Regions from separate parts of the Homo sapiens genome. Here region 2 is linked to region 1. The links are contacts of gene promoters, found by promoter capture Hi-C in blood cells and fetal thymus (Javierre and others, 2016). All regions are on one chromosome and are shown on one strand. The core of a region is centred on a gene start or on the middle of the fragment in contact, and the rest is flanking DNA. Distances in the headings are between cores, read along the strand shown.

Evidence for each region. Contacts are between HindIII fragments. The CHiCAGO score rates a contact against its expected background, and 5 or more counts as called.
Region 2: a contact is called between a fragment that was not itself captured here and the fragment with the promoter of ASB16-AS1 in region 1, in 1 of 17 cell types (erythroblasts). The highest score is 5.6, in erythroblasts.

The regions. Positions count from the first base shown.
Region 1 is chr17:44,183,393-44,191,077 of GRCh38, forward strand. It overlaps ASB16-AS1 (ASB16 antisense RNA 1), which reads right to left and starts at 3,325. Exons shown (of 3, transcript NR_049730.1): 1 at 3,173-3,325. TMUB2 (transmembrane and ubiquitin like domain containing 2) reads left to right here and starts at 3,580. Exons shown (of 4, transcript NM_001076674.3): 1 at 3,580-3,717; 2 at 4,284-4,351; 3 at 5,630-6,196; 4 at 7,109-7,685. The coding sequence starts at 4,317. The coding sequence ends at 7,472. RefSeq lists an enhancer at 2,904-3,438. The HindIII fragment of the contact is 11,845 bases long and covers 1-7,685 here.
Region 2 is chr17:44,040,526-44,048,042 of GRCh38, forward strand. All of the region lies in intron 2 of LSM12 (LSM12 homolog), which reads right to left. Among named protein-coding and RNA genes, the nearest start is that of LSM12, 22 kb to the right of the region's middle. The HindIII fragment of the contact is 3,208 bases long and covers 3,495-6,702 here.

The DNA of each region.
Region 1 (7,685 bases), core at 2,075-4,574:
TTTTTCACCTTGTTATGCAGAATGCAACACCCCCTTTCTGGATGAAAATTTGTGCTTTAGTTTTACAGAGCCAAAAGGCCTGACAGAAGAAAAAGAACTCCTCCCTAGAGAGGGAGGCTGGGAGCCTCACTCTCAGGGGCAATGCTGAACTTTCTACCCCTTTACAGCACGCCGACCACAGCCAGCTCAGCCTTTTCTGATATATTTACAACTACAAAAGATACCGTTAAAAAAGAAAAATACCTGGGTGCAGTGGCTTACGCCTGTAATCCCAGCACTTGGGGAGGCCGAGGCGGGTGGATCGCCTGAGGTCAGGAGTTCAAGACCAGCCTGGCTGACATTGTGAAACCCTTTCTCTACTAAAAATACAAAAAGTAGGCCAGGCGCGATAGCTCACGCCTATAATCCCAGCACTTTCGGAGGCCGAGGCAGGCAGATCACCTGAGGCCAGGAGTTCGAGACCAGCCTGGCCAACATGGTGAAACCCTTCCCTACTAAAAATACAAAAATTAGCCAGGTGTGGTGGCACACACATATACTCCCAGCTATTCAGTAGGTTGAGGCAGGAGAATCACTTGAACCTGGGAGGCGGAAGTTGCAGTGAGCTGAGATCTCCCACTGCACTCCAGCCTGGGTGACAGCAAAACTCGTCTCCAAAAAAAAAAAAAAAAAAATCAGGATACAAGGCCAGGTGTGCAAATCCTGTTGGTGGACAAATCGCCTCTTTGGGGGCAATTTGGCCACTTCCTTAAACACTGTTCCCAGTTACACAAAAGGCAGGCTACATACAGGAATATTCCTCTCAGCGTTGCTTGCAACAACTCATGTTGGAGTGGTTAGACAAATCCATATTACCCATGGCAGGAAAGAACTAGGGAGGGATTCCAAGTGACCAGCATGTGTACTGCCTTGGGAAGATCTCCCAGAGTGGTTTTTATTGATTGATTGAAACGGGGTCTTTCTGTATGCCAGGCTGGAGTGCAGTGACGCAATCACAGCTCACTGTAGCCTTGACCTCCTAGGCTCCAATGATTCTCCCACCTCAGCCTCCCAAGTAGCTGGGACTACAGGCACACACCGCCAGGCCTGGCTAATTTTTAAATTTTTTGTAGCGACAGGGTCTCGCAATGTTGCCCATGCTGGTTTCAAACTCCTGGACTCAAGTGATCCTCCCACCTTAGCCTCCCCAAGTGCTGCAATTACACTCTAGAGCCACCATGCTCAGCTGAAGACAATTATTTTCCTTTACATTTTTTTTTATTTTGAGACGGAGTCTCACTCTGTCTCCCAGGTTGGAGCATAGTGGCGCGATCACAGCTCTCTGCAATCTTGACCCTAGGGTCAAGCAATCATCCCACCTCAGCCTCCTGAGTAGCTGGCTCATGGCTCACTGCAGCCTTAACCTCCTAGGGTCAATCATCCCACTTCAGCCTCCTGAGTAGCTGGGACCACAGGCACACGCCACCATGCCCAGCTAATTAATTTTTTTTTAGAGATGGGGGTCTCACCATATTGCCCAGGCTGGTCTTGAACTCCTGGCTCAAGGGATCCTCCTGCCTCAGCCTCCCAAAGTGCTGGGATTACAAGTATGAGCCACTGTGCCCGGCTTTGTGAATGTACTTAATGCCACTGAATTGCAAACTTAAAAATAGTTAAAATGGTTTTAAGTTTTATGTTACGTATATGTATATATTTATCTTTAGAGATAGAGGTCTCCCTGTGTTGCCCAGGCTGGCCTTTAACTCCTGGGCTCAAGTGACACTGCTGAGTCAGCCTTCAGAGTAGCTGGGACTACAGGTGCATGCCACTGTGCCTAGCTATGTTTATTTTACCACAATGAAAGGACTTACAAAAAAGAAGCTAGACACCGAAGAGGATACACAGTTGGATTCCATTTATAGCAAGTACAAAAACAGGAAAAACTAATGTATGGTGACAGACGTCAGAATAGTGATTACTCTTTGGAGGTTAATGGCTAGAAGAAGACATGAAGGGGGAGATTCTGGGGTAATTCTTTCTTTTTTTTTTTTTTCCTGAGACAGAGTCTCGCTCTGTCACCCCAGCTGGCGTGCAGTGGCTCCATCTCAGCTCACTGCAACCTCCGCCTCCCAGGTTCAAGCCATTCTCCTGCCTCAGCCTTCTGAGTAGCCAGGATTACAGGCGTGCGCCACCACGCCCGGCTAATTTTTGTATTTTTAGTAGAGACGGGATTTCACCATGTTACCCAGGCTGGTCTTGAACTCCTGACCTTGTGATCCGCCTGCCTTAGCCTCCTAACGTGTTGGGATTACAGGCGTGAGCCACCGCGCCAGTCCTAATTATCTATTTCTTGATCTAAGTGCTACTTCTGCCAGTGTTCAGTTGGTAGAAGCCACCGAGCTTTTTGCTTATGTTTGCCCCTGTCTGGATTATTTATCCTTTAATCAGTAGTTCTCCAAAACCCCAAACTCCAGCGCTTTTTTTTTTTTTTTTGGAGACAAGGCCTCCCTGTCGGGTGCAATGCAGTGGCTCAGATCATAGCTCACTGCAGCCTCGAACTCCTGAGCTCAAGCGATCCTCCCACCTCTGCCTCCCAAAGCGGTGGGATTACAAGAGTAAGCCACTCCCCCCGGCCACAGTAAGTTTTTAGAAAAAATTTTAATTGCGGCCGAGCGCGGTAGCTCACGCCTGTAATGCCAGCACTTTGGGAGGCCGAGACGGGGGCGGATCACCTGAGGTCGGGAGTTCGAGACCAGCCTGACCAACATGGAGAAACCCTGTCTCTACTAAAATACAAAATTAGCGGGGCGTGGTGGCGCATGCCTGTAATCCCAGCTACTCGGCAGGCTGAGGCAAAAGAATCGCTTGAACCCGGGGGGGCGGAGGTTGCAGTGAGCCGAGATCGCGCCATTGCACTCCAGCCTGGGCAACAAGAGCGGAACTCCCGTCTCAAAAAAGAAAAAATTTTAACTGCAAAAATCTGGATAAGTTCTTGAAAGCTGGACTTTTCCCCCTTTTTGTGTCCTAAGCCTGCGCCGAATCTGTGCCTTCTTTGAAATGCTTTCCCGCCTTCTTTCTCCGGGTCCCACACTACCTGGGGCCGCACTCTTCAAGCACTGGATGCTGACTAACTGGTCTCCTTATCTGTCTTCCCGACTGGCCCAGAGCTGAGTTCTTACTAATCCCCGCTAACCTGGAGTTAGGTGCGCGTTGCAAAGCAGTAACGAATCCAATCAGCCGGGGAGGCAGACAGCAGGGCCGGAAGAACAAAGCTGGAAAGGGAAACGTCGCACCGGCTCTGCCCAGCGGCGCCAGCCCGGGCAACCTTCCGCAGTCGCGAAGCCACGCCCCTTTCCCAAGTACCTCCGCGCTAACTCCTCCCCCCTGGCCCCGCCTCTCACCCTGGATTGCCTAAGGCCCCGCCCACCAGGCGTGGCCCCGCTCTGGGAGGGCCGCAATCCCGCCAACAATGACTCCACCCCTCCTTCCGCTGAGAAACCTGTCCCTTTTATTTAAAGAATACCTTTTACGTCAGCCCGTCTTACGCAGCTTCGCGTCATCAGTGCAAGGCGCGGAGGCGGGACTTCCTGTCCCTGGTATAACAGCTTCCGGGAGAAGCCGGAAGAGACCGGACCCTGAACAGAATCGCAGATTGCCAGCCCTTTTCCCGACCCCTACGGAAAGACGAGTCCAGGGGCCGTCCTGGCGAGGTCAAAACATTTAGTCTGGTCTTTTCAGGTGAGGACTTCCCCATCCAGGCACAGTGCCGGTCCAATCCCCCTTTAATTTCCCATGACTCCTCGCGTCCTGAAGCCCCGCCCCCAGTTCCCCAGCCCCGCCCCGAAGTTTGAGGGGTGTGGACGGTTTGTGACCCCCTTAGCCGACCCTACTCCTCACTGGCCGGGACAACTGGTCTTATCACGGAGGCTGGGGCCAGGCAGCCCTTCGGTTCGGGTGGGCCCATGGACCCCAGTCCAACGCCGAGGGAATAGGACCATCCAAAAGCGGAACCTTCGCCTCAGAAAAAGGGTGCGGGACCCCTCCTCACCGTGCGGTCACGGTACGGACAGGGTAGATCACAGGCTGAGGGACAGAGCAAAGACCCCTGAGGCCGGACACCTGGGGTCCTGCCGGGCCCCTCCCCACGAGAGTTCCCTGTGTCTGTGCCAATCGTTTTCGTCTTTCTTTGCCGCAGTTTCTTTTCCTGTAAATCATGGTTAATAACATTAACCTTCTTACCATCAGGGGTTAGTTGTGGTTGTGATAAATAATTACTACCGTTATTAAGCAATTGCAATTTGCAGTGTGCCAGGCACTGTGCCAAGTATTTTGCTTCGATGATTTCACGTCATCTTCAAAACAACCTCATGAGGTAGGTACTGTTTTTAACCCCATTTTACTGATGAGAAAGCTGAGGCTCTGAGAAAGTTGTCTGAGGTGTTATAGCTAGTAAGACGCAAGACTGGGGTTATAATTAGTTGTTTTTCTAACTCCAGGGCCGGTATATTAAATAAGGATGTTGATGTGTTCCACAGATAATTCTTTGAGCAACTACTGGGGCATTATATTGGACACTTCAGTACCAAGAGAAATACATACGATCCTTGTCTACCAGGAGTCTAATAGAAAGATGGACAGGTACATAAGTATAATGAAGTTTTATAGGTGCTGTGAGAATAGTCTGATAATGGTAATCACCAGACTGGATTTGCCCAGGGACAGCTGTGAAAGCAGCAGATTCTCCAAGGGAAATAGTAGGTACTCCAAGGAGCAAGCAGGGACCCTTCCTGCCTTTCTAAGAAACTGCAGCAGCAGAACCTTCACAGTGAAAGAAGAGAGACTGAGATATGGATTGTGAGAGCTGTTATGGAATCTTTTTCAAATCACTCCACTTGGGGAGTGGTCATTGCAGGAGTGGGCCCATGGTGACCCAGGAAGGTGGTGCTTCTGGTGTCTGTCCCAAGTTGCTCCCCAGGGCTTGCCAGAAGTTTCAGAGGCGGCACATAATGTCTGCTGCATAGTATCTGCCCGCGGTCCCTACAGAGTTATCGTTTTAGATTTGTCTGACTCTGCTTTTGATGGTAGGTCAGTTTTCTTTGGCTCTTGACATCTGGCAGCCTGGATCTGTGACCAGGAATGAAATAGGCTCAAATGAGACAATCTGGCAGGGATGGCTAAACAGTGCTTCCAGGGGGGCCCCACAGTAAAATATTCCAGGCTTTTGGGTCTCTCTGAAGCCACTTTGGAGGCTGCTTAGGAGGCATATTTGCTTGACCAAGCGATAGAAATCCTAGAGAAACTCAGGCCTCAGCAAAGATTTTTCCTCATTCACCAAAAAAGCAACAACAGTAGCAGCAGCAGCAAGGCTGTGGGCTTTTCCTGCTGATCCACACTCATTGGGAAGTTGGAGTTTGAGAGAGGAAGGTCACAGAACGTGAAAGCAAGAGTTTCACAATAGAGGCAAAGGGTAGGGTAGGTCTTTAGGTTTAGGTTGGGGTGCCGGAATTAGGAAGGTTTGTGCCCCCTTCTACACAACACTGAACTCCTTTTTTTTTTTTTTCAGGGCTGGGTCAGTTAGAACCTAAACAAACTAGAGACCTGGTTGCAACCCCTCAGGCTCTGCTGATGCTGTCCCCCTTTGTTCCTGCAGCGTGGACCCTGCCAGCAGCCAGGCCATGGAGCTCTCTGATGTCACCCTCATTGAGGGTGTGGGTAATGAGGTGATGGTGGTGGCAGGTGTGGTGGTGCTGATTCTAGCCTTGGTCCTAGCTTGGCTCTCTACCTACGTAGCAGACAGCGGTAGCAACCAGCTCCTGGGCGCTATTGTGTCAGCAGGCGACACATCCGTCCTCCACCTGGGGCATGTGGACCACCTGGTGGCAGGCCAAGGCAACCCCGAGCCAACTGAACTCCCCCATCCATCAGAGGGTAATGATGAGAAGGCTGAAGAGGCGGGTGAAGGTCGGGGAGACTCCACTGGGGAGGCTGGAGCTGGGGGTGGTGTTGAGCCCAGCCTTGAGCATCTCCTTGACATCCAAGGCCTGCCCAAAAGACAAGCAGGTGCAGGCAGCAGCAGTCCAGAGGCCCCCCTGAGATCTGAGGATAGCACCTGCCTCCCTCCCAGCCCTGGCCTCATCACTGTGCGGCTCAAATTCCTCAATGATACCGAGGAGCTGGCTGTGGCTAGGCCAGAGGATACCGTGGGTGCCCTGAAGAGGTGAGTGGCCTGGGAAGTGGGAAGCTGCTTGTGCTCATCCCCCAGCCCTTGGTTGCCTCTAAGGAGGCTGGTGCAGACATGGGAGCTGCAGCAAAGTGTAAGATCCAGCCCCTACCAAGGGCAGGTAGATACTTTCTTAGAAATACACCCTTCAGGCCGGGTGCAGTGGCTCCCGGGACTTTGGGAGGCCGAGGCGGGTGCATCACGAGGTTAGGAGTTCGAGACCAGCCTGACCAACATGGTGAAACCCCATCTCTACTAAACATACAAAAATCAGCCGGGCGTGGTGGCGCACGCCTGCAATCCCAGCTACTCAGGAGGCTGAGGCAGGAGAATCGCTTGAACCCAGGAGGTGGAGGTTGCAGTGAGCCGAGATTGCGCCACTGCACTCCAGCCTGGGCGACAGAGTGAGACTCCATCTAAAAAAACAAAACAAACAAATACACCCCTCATTAGTTAAGGATAAAGATGAGGGGGGCCTGTCGCGGTGGCTCACGCCTGTAATCCCAGCACTTTGGGAGGCCAAGGCGGGCAGATCACAAGGTCAAGATATCAAGACCATCCTGGCCAGCATGGTGAAACCCTGTCTCTACTAAAAAAAAAAATACAAAAATTAGCTGGGCATGGTGGCGCACTCCTGTAGTCCCAGCTACTCGGGAGGGTGAGGCAGGAGAATTGCTTGAACCCGGGAGGCAGAGGTTGCAGTGAGCCGAGATCGCGCCACTGCACTCCAGCCTGGCAACAGAGTGAGACTCCGTCTCAAAAAAAAAAAAAAAAAAAAAAGGATAAAGATGAGGGAAAAAAAAATCCACCCTCCAGTTTTTCCCCACTCCCCTGCTTTGTTGGTCCAGGCCTGTTTGCCTTCTCATTCCTCACCCTCTATCTTTTCTTCCATGTCTTTCATCCTTACAGCAAATACTTCCCTGGACAAGAAAGCCAGATGAAACTGATCTACCAGGGCCGCCTGCTACAAGACCCAGCCCGCACACTGCGTTCTCTGAACATTACCGACAACTGTGTGATTCACTGCCACCGCTCACCCCCAGGGTCAGCTGTTCCAGGCCCCTCAGCCTCCTTGGCCCCCTCGGCCACTGAGCCACCCAGCCTTGGTGTCAATGTGGGCAGCCTCATGGTGCCTGTCTTTGTGGTGCTGTTGGGTGTGGTCTGGTACTTCCGAATCAATTACCGCCAATTCTTCACAGCACCTGCCACTGTCTCCCTGGTGGGAGTCACCGTCTTCTTCAGCTTCCTAGTATTTGGGATGTATGGACGATAAGGACATAGGAAGAAAATGAAAGGCATGGTCTTTCTCCTTTACGGCCTCCCCACTTTTCCTGGCCAGAGCTGGGCCCAAGGGCCGGGGAGGGAGGGGTGGAAAGGATGTGATGGAAATCTCCTCCATAGGACACAGGAGGCAAGTATGCGGCCTCCCCTTCTCATCCACAGGAGTACAGATGTCCCTCCCGTGCGAGCACAACTCAGGTAGAAA
Region 2 (7,517 bases), core at 3,849-6,348, 140 kb before region 1:
GAAGTGGGTGGGGGAGACAGACTATAAACAAGTAACTGAAATCAAGGTGATTTCAGACAGTGATAAGCACTAGGAAGAAAATAAAGCACTTTTAACATTATAGAGTGTGGCTGGGGGACTATGTGATGGCAAATGATGGTCAGAGATTTAAAAATATATACATTTCCGGCCAGGGGAGGTGGCTCATGCCTGTAATCCCAGCACTTTGGGAGGCCGAGGCAGGTGGATCACGAGGTCAGGAGGTCAAGACCAGCCTGGCCAAGATGGTTAAAACCCTGTTTCTACTAAAAATACAAAAAAAAAAAAAAAATTAGCCAGGCGTGGTGGCGGGCTCCTGTAATCCCAGCTACTTGGGAGGCTGAGGCAGAGAATTGCTTGAACCCAGGAGAAGGCTGCAGGGAGCTGAGATCGCGCCACTGCACTCTAGCCTGGGTGACAGAGCAAGACTCCGTCTCAAAACAAAACAAAACCAAACAAAAAAAAATACATACACATACACACACACACACTTCTAACTGGGTGCATCACTGAGGTAGGGAGTTCGAGACCAGCCTGGCCAACATGGTGAAACCCCGTCTCTACTAAAATTACAAAAATTAGCCGGGCATGGTGGTGCGTGCCTGTAATCCCAGCTACTCAGAAGGCTGAGGCAGCAGAATCACTTGAACACAGCAGGCAGATGTTGCAGTGTGCCGAGATCATGCTACTGTACTCCAGCCTGGGCAAAGAAGTGAGACTCTGTCTCTTTAAAAAAAAAAAAAACAAACACACACACACACACACACACACACACACACACACACACACAAACACACACACACACACAGAATTTCCATTCAAGGCGAAAATTAAGATTTATCAGCTGTTGTGCTAGAGCCTCCAGTTTAAAAATTAATACATACCACACCTTCACAGACCACAATCTGAGACTCTAAAAACTCTTACAGAACATTATCTGTGCTCACATAGGGAGCCAGGACTCAAGTAAATCTAACCATAAACGCTGTCCACCTTTAACTTTAGCTAAAGGCAACCCTGTCCTGCTTTTGAGAAAAACGAAGAGTCTGAATTCTACGTCATGTCTGTTCCTTCACTGCCCTCTGGTGGAACCATCCACAAACTGATCAAAAGAAAATCTAGTAAAATCTGGTAGTCTACTACAATCTCGTAACTTCTACCCTGTCAATCCCTATCACCTCTCCAGCACATTTCTGATCCCTACCCCACACTACTGGTTGCTAGAGATTCCAGAGGTACAAATTTGTTTGAGTGTAAGACAAAACAAATGTGCTAGACAAGGTAGTTAAAACAAATTAAAGGCAAACAATGCATCTTAAAAGTCCAACAAATAATCTGGAGACTCTTCAGACCCATGAACATGAACAGCTGAGTCTAACAATGCTGCAGCACATGTGCAAACACGCGCGAGAACACACAATTTGTCCCCAAACATCAGTTCCTTAAATAAAAAGAGGCACTGGCTGGGCCCAGTGGCTCACGCCTATAATCCCAGTACTTTGTGAGGCCGAGGCAGGCGGATCACCTGAGGTCAGGAGTTTGAGACCAACCTGGCCAACATGGTGAAACCCCGTCTCTACTAAAAATACAAAAATTAGATGGGTGTGGTGGTGTGCACCTGTAATCCCGCCTACTCAGGAGGCTGAGACAGGAGAATCGCTTGAACACGGGAGGCAGAGACTGCAGTGAGCCGAGATTGTACCACTACACTCCAGCCTGGGCGACAGAGCAAGACTCCGTCTCAAAAAAAAAATGGGGGAGCCATACCTACAGCATATTCCAAAAGTACCTTAATGCTTGGAATCTTCAAACATTTATATTCTGCTTTTACAGTGATCCATCAAACCATAAACTAAGCATAGCTTTTTTTCTTGGGATTGAGTTTCACTCTTGTTGCCCAGGCTGGAGTACAATGGCACGATCTCAGCTCACTGCAACCTCCGCCTCCTGGGTTCAAGCGATTCTCCTGTCTCAGCCTCCAGAGTAGCTGGGATTACAGGTGCCCGCCACCACCCCCAGCTAATTTTTTTTTTTTTTTTGAGACGGAGTCTCGCTCTGTCGCCCAGGCTGGAGTGCAGTGGCGCAAGCTCTGCTCACTGCAAGCTCCACCTCCCAGGTTCACGTCATTCTCCTGCCTCAGCCTCCCGAGTAGCTGGGACTACAGGCGCCTGCCACCACGCCCAGCTAATTTTTTTGTAGTTTTTTAGTAGAGATGGGGTTTCACTGTGTTAGCCAGGATGGTCTCGATCTCCTGACCTCGTGATCCACCCACCTGGGCCTCCCAAAGTGCTAGGATTACAGGCGTGAGCTACCACACCTGGCCATTTTTTTGTATTTTTAGTAGAGACAGGATTTCACCATGTTGGCCAGGCCGGTCTTGAACTCCTGAGCTCAGGTGATCCACCCACCTCAGCCTCCCAAAGTGCTGGTATTACAGGCGTGAGCCACCACGCCTGGCTCCAAGCATAGTTTTATAGCAGAGGAAGTAAACCAAGTGTCTAATTCTTTGTTTATAAAATTAAGCACTTTCTCAAGGCTTAGGTTTGACTATGAAAAAAAAGGAGGCCTTCAATTGCCATGGGTATTCTTGTCCTTGCAAGTTTCAAAGACTGTCTTAGGAAGGAGGAGCAGGCGTGAGCACAGAAGGCCAGCTCACGCTGTCATTTCAGCCTCCCCGGGTAAGAGAGGGAAGAATGGCAAAACCCTGCAGTGATCTGAAGCCAGAGCTCCTTTTTCACAGGATCTCTAGGACATGGAGAGAGACAAATACAGCAGCAATATATATATAATCTTTCAAGACTGGCTGCCATTCTGGCCCTACCAGGCTATAACTTTACAGACAAATAAACACACAGGCTGACAGCATTCCAAGCAGTGGCAATCCCAACTGTAACAAGAAAGCCTTGTAGTTTCTATGGAAAGAGCTGCTGATGATGTATTTTAAGCAGCAACAAGCAACGCTTACTCAAGCACCAAAAAAACCCCGGTAACAAGGAGGAGTTTCCTTTTTTTTTTTTTTTTTGAGATGGAGTCTTGCTCTGTGGCCCAGGCTGGTGCAGTGGTGCAATCTCAGCTCACTGCAACCTAAGGAGGAGTTTCCTTGAATCTTGCTTTCCAAACAATGCCTTAAGAAAATCTGAAGTCGGCCAGCGCTGTGGCTCACGCCTGTAATCCCAGCATTTTGGGAGGCTGAGGGAGGAAGATCACTTGAGCCCAGTAGTTACAGACCAGCCTGGGCAACATAGTGGGACCCTGCCTCTATTAAAAAAAAAAAAAAAAATCTGAAGTCTTTAAGGAAAGAAGGAAAAACTGGAGGGTGGCAGAGCTCCTGGGAAGCATCTAGTGGACAGGCGGGCATTTACCTTATAAGCAGGCTGGAAGATCTCACTTTGAAACCTCAATCCCCTTTAAAAACGTTTATTCCTGAAAATCCAAATCATCTCCGAATGCTGGGTCAGAGAAAGCTGCTTCTATAAAGCTTGTGTTGACTAGATAGTCTGAACGTTCAAAGAGTAAAATGTCGTTGTCACCTACATAGCAGCTTAAAAACATAACATCACCCCATTTAGTAAGAGACAAGAGTTGGCTCAGGAAACCAGGCATCTATGCAGAATGTTTAAGAATGGAACTGACAAATTAAGCTAGAGAAGGGGAGAAAAAAAAGCTGGAAGAAGAGCCACTTGAATTTTTGCCAGAGAGAAAATAAAATGGATATAAATCTCAGCCAGAAGTGATTCTTTAGACAGGCTGAGTAACAATGACACACTGGTTATAGAACAATGATTTCAAAATACACCCCCCACCCCCGCCAAAATACCAGTTGTGCAAGTGCAATCTCCCCTAAAGTCTCCAAAAGCAAAGGAGAATGGACTAGACAATTCTCTATTTCAATTCTAATGCAAACATCCCAAATGCTAAATGATGTAAGGGAGCACTTAGAAAAGTCAGCAGAAATGACTGTAAGCTGACTGTATATATTTTCAGTTTGCCCCCAATATACTCAACCTACAGTAATGCTTTAGGGATCCGGACTCAGCTACACAGATCTGCTTTTACCAGGAAGCTGTACAAATGGGATAAAATCTCCTAGAGAGGACCCCATCAATTAGGGGTCCCCATCAATGGGGGAGACCGCTCTCAATAAAAGAAACTAGAAGTGTTTCCTTTTTTCAAAATTGAGGGTGGGGAGAAGGAGATTACCTTGCCCTTTTTTGTCATGAAAACTCATGCAGAACATGAATATGCCTTCTTTTGTAAAGCAAACGATTATCACTCTACCCTCAATTTAGCTGCTGTACAAATCTAAATTTTCCCACATATTTTTGCAAATGACTATATACCTATAAATGGCCCAATTATTCCAAGTTAGTAAGTTTATGGTTTTTGCCAAACCACTGGAGAGAACCAATAAAAGCTGCCCTCAGTAGAGAAAGTGTAGAATGTGCCTTTTAGGCTTGGGAGGGCCACCAAGATTACTTTTTAAAATCTATTTCTTTTTTTTTGAGACAAAGTCTTGCTCTGTCGCCCAGGCTGGAGTGCAGTGGTGCGATCTCAGCTCACTGCAACCTCCGCCTCCCAGGTTCAAGGGATTCTCCTGCCTCAGCCTCCCAAGTAGCTGGGATTACAGGTGCCCACCACCACGCCTGGCTAATTTTTGTATTTTTAGTAGAGACAGGGGTTCACCATGTTGGTCAGGCTGGTCTCGAACTCCTGACCTCGTGATCTGCCCGCCTCAGCCTCCCAAAGTGCTGGGATTACAAGCGTAAGCCACCATGCCTGGCCTTAAATCTATTTCTATAGTTTTTCCTTTACTAGATATTTCATATAAATGGAATGATACAATGTGTTGACTTACGTCTCTGGCTTCTTCCACTTAGCACATTTCTGAGGTTCATCCATTTTGTTTCATGTACCAATAGTTTTTTAAATTGCTAGGAAGCATTCCACTATGAGGATACAGTTCTACCTTTTATATATTCATTCACTAGTTGATGGACAGTTGATCAAAATCTGAATTGTTTCCAGTTTTGTTTTTTGTGTTTTCTGAAACAGAGTCTCACTCTATCACCCAGGCTGGAATGTAATGGCACAATCTCAGCCCACTGCAACCTCCACCCACTGGGCTCAAGCAATCCTCCCACTTCAGCTTCCCAAGTAGCTGGGACCACAGAAGCACACCACCACGCCCAGCTAAGGTGTTGTATTTTTTTGTAGAGACAGGGTTTCACCGTATTGCCCAGGATAGTCTTGAACTCCTGAGCTCAAACGATCCACCCACCTTGGCCTCCTAAGGTGCTGGGATTACAGGCATGAGCCACCCTACCCGGCTGTTTCCAGTTTTTGGCAGCAGTCACACACAAGTCTTTGTGTATGTAAAAGTAAAAATATTTTACTTTTTTTTTTTTTTTTTTGAGACGGAGTCTCGCTCTGTCTCCCAGGTTGGAGTGCAGTGGCGCGATCTTGGCTCACTGCAAGCTCCGCCTCCTGGGTTCACGCCATTCTCCTGCCTCAGCCTCCCGAGTAGCTGGGACTACAGGCGCCCGCCACCACGCCCGGATAATTTTTGTATTTTTAGTAGAGACAGGGTTTCACCCTGTTAGCCAGGATGGTCTTGATCTCCTGACCTCATGATCCGCCCGCCTCGGCCTCCCAAAGTGCTGGGATTACAGGTGTGAGTCACCATGCCCAGCCAACGTTTTACTTTTTAAAAGTAAAAAGATTTTGCTTTTTAAAAGTAAAAAGTCTCTGTGTGTGGACATGTTTTTACTTTTGTTAGGTAGATAACTAAGAGTAGAATTTCTGGGTCATATGGTAAGTGTATGTTTAATTTTTAAAGTAATTGTTTTCCTGCTAGTGAAGTTTCCTTAAAAACAAAACAAAATGGCCGGGTGCAGTGGCTCACGCCTGCAATCCCAGCACTTTGGGAGGCCGAGGCGGATGGATCACGGGGTCAGGAGATCGAGACCATCCTGGCTAACACGGTGAAACCCCGTCTCTACTAAAAATGCAAAAAATCAGCCGGGGATGGTGGCGGGCGCCTGTAGTCCTAGCTACTCGGGAGGCTGAGGCAGGAGAAAGGCGTGAACTCAGGAGGCGGAGCTTGCAGTGAGCTGAGATTAATGCGCCACTGCACTCCAGCCTGGGCAACAGAGCCAGACTCCGTCTCAAAAAAAAAAAAAAAAAAGGAACTGTCAAACTGTTTTCTTTTTTTTTTTCTTTTTTTTTTTTTTTTGCTGGAGTGCAATGGCGCGATCTTGGCTCACTGCAACCTCCGCCTCTGGGGTTCAAGTGATTCTCCTGCCTCAGTCTCCCGAGTAGCTGGGATTACAGGCGCCCGCCACCACGCCTGGCTAATTTTTTGTATTTTTAGTAGAGATGGGGTTTCACTATGTTGGCCAGGCTGGTCTCGAACTCCTGACCTCGTGATCCACCCGCCTCGACCTCCCAAAGTGCTGGGATTACAGGCGTAAGCCACAGCGCCCGGCCCTAATGTTTGATAGTTCTAAATCTGCCACCTACTCACCAACACTGGGTACTGTTAGCCTTTCTGATCTCAGCCATTTTAGCAGAAGTATAGCAGTTTCACACTGTGGTTTTCACTTGTACTTCCCTTTATGTCTAATGATATCAAGCATCTTATGTGCTTATTTGTAATTACTGTATCTTCTCTGATACAGTATTCAAAGCTTTTGCCCATTTTTAATTGGACTGTCTTTTTTTTGAGATGGAGTCTTGCTCTGTCACCCAGACTGGAGTGCAGTGGCACCATCTCAGCTCACCACAACCTCTGCCTCCCAGGTTCAAGCAATTCTCCTGCCTCAGCCTCCAGAGTAGCTAGGACTACAGGCCCACACCACCACGCCCAGCTAATTTTTGTATTTTTAGTAAAGACAGGGTTTCACCACGTTGGCCAGGCTGGTCTCAAACTCCTGACCTCAGGTGATTCACCTGCCTCGGCCTCCCAAAGTGCTGGGATTACAGGCATGAGCCACCATGCCCAGCCTGGATTGTCTTATTATCATTATTATTTTCTTTTTTGAGATAGGTCTTGCTCTGTTGCCCAGGCTGGAGTGTACTGGCATAATCATGGCTCACTGCAGCCTTGACCTCCTTGGCTAAAGCAATCCTCCCACCTCAGCCTCCCAAGCATCTGGAACCACAAGCAAGGACCACTATGCCTGGCAGGTTTGTTTGTTCTGTTTTTTTTTTTTTAATTTTATGTAGCGATGGGGTCTCCCTGTGTTCCCTAGGCTAGTCTCAAACTCCTGATCTCAAATCATCCTCCCACCTCAGCCTCCCAAAGTGCTGGAATTACAAGCATAAACCACCAAGCCCGGGCTGCCTTATTAAGAGTTCTTGGCTGGGCGTGGTCACTCACACCTGTAATCCTAGCACTTTGGGAGGCTGAGGAAGGCCGATCACTTGAGCCAGGGGTTCAAGACCAGTGTGGACAACATAGACAGTGTCCGTATTAAACACACACACACACACACACACAC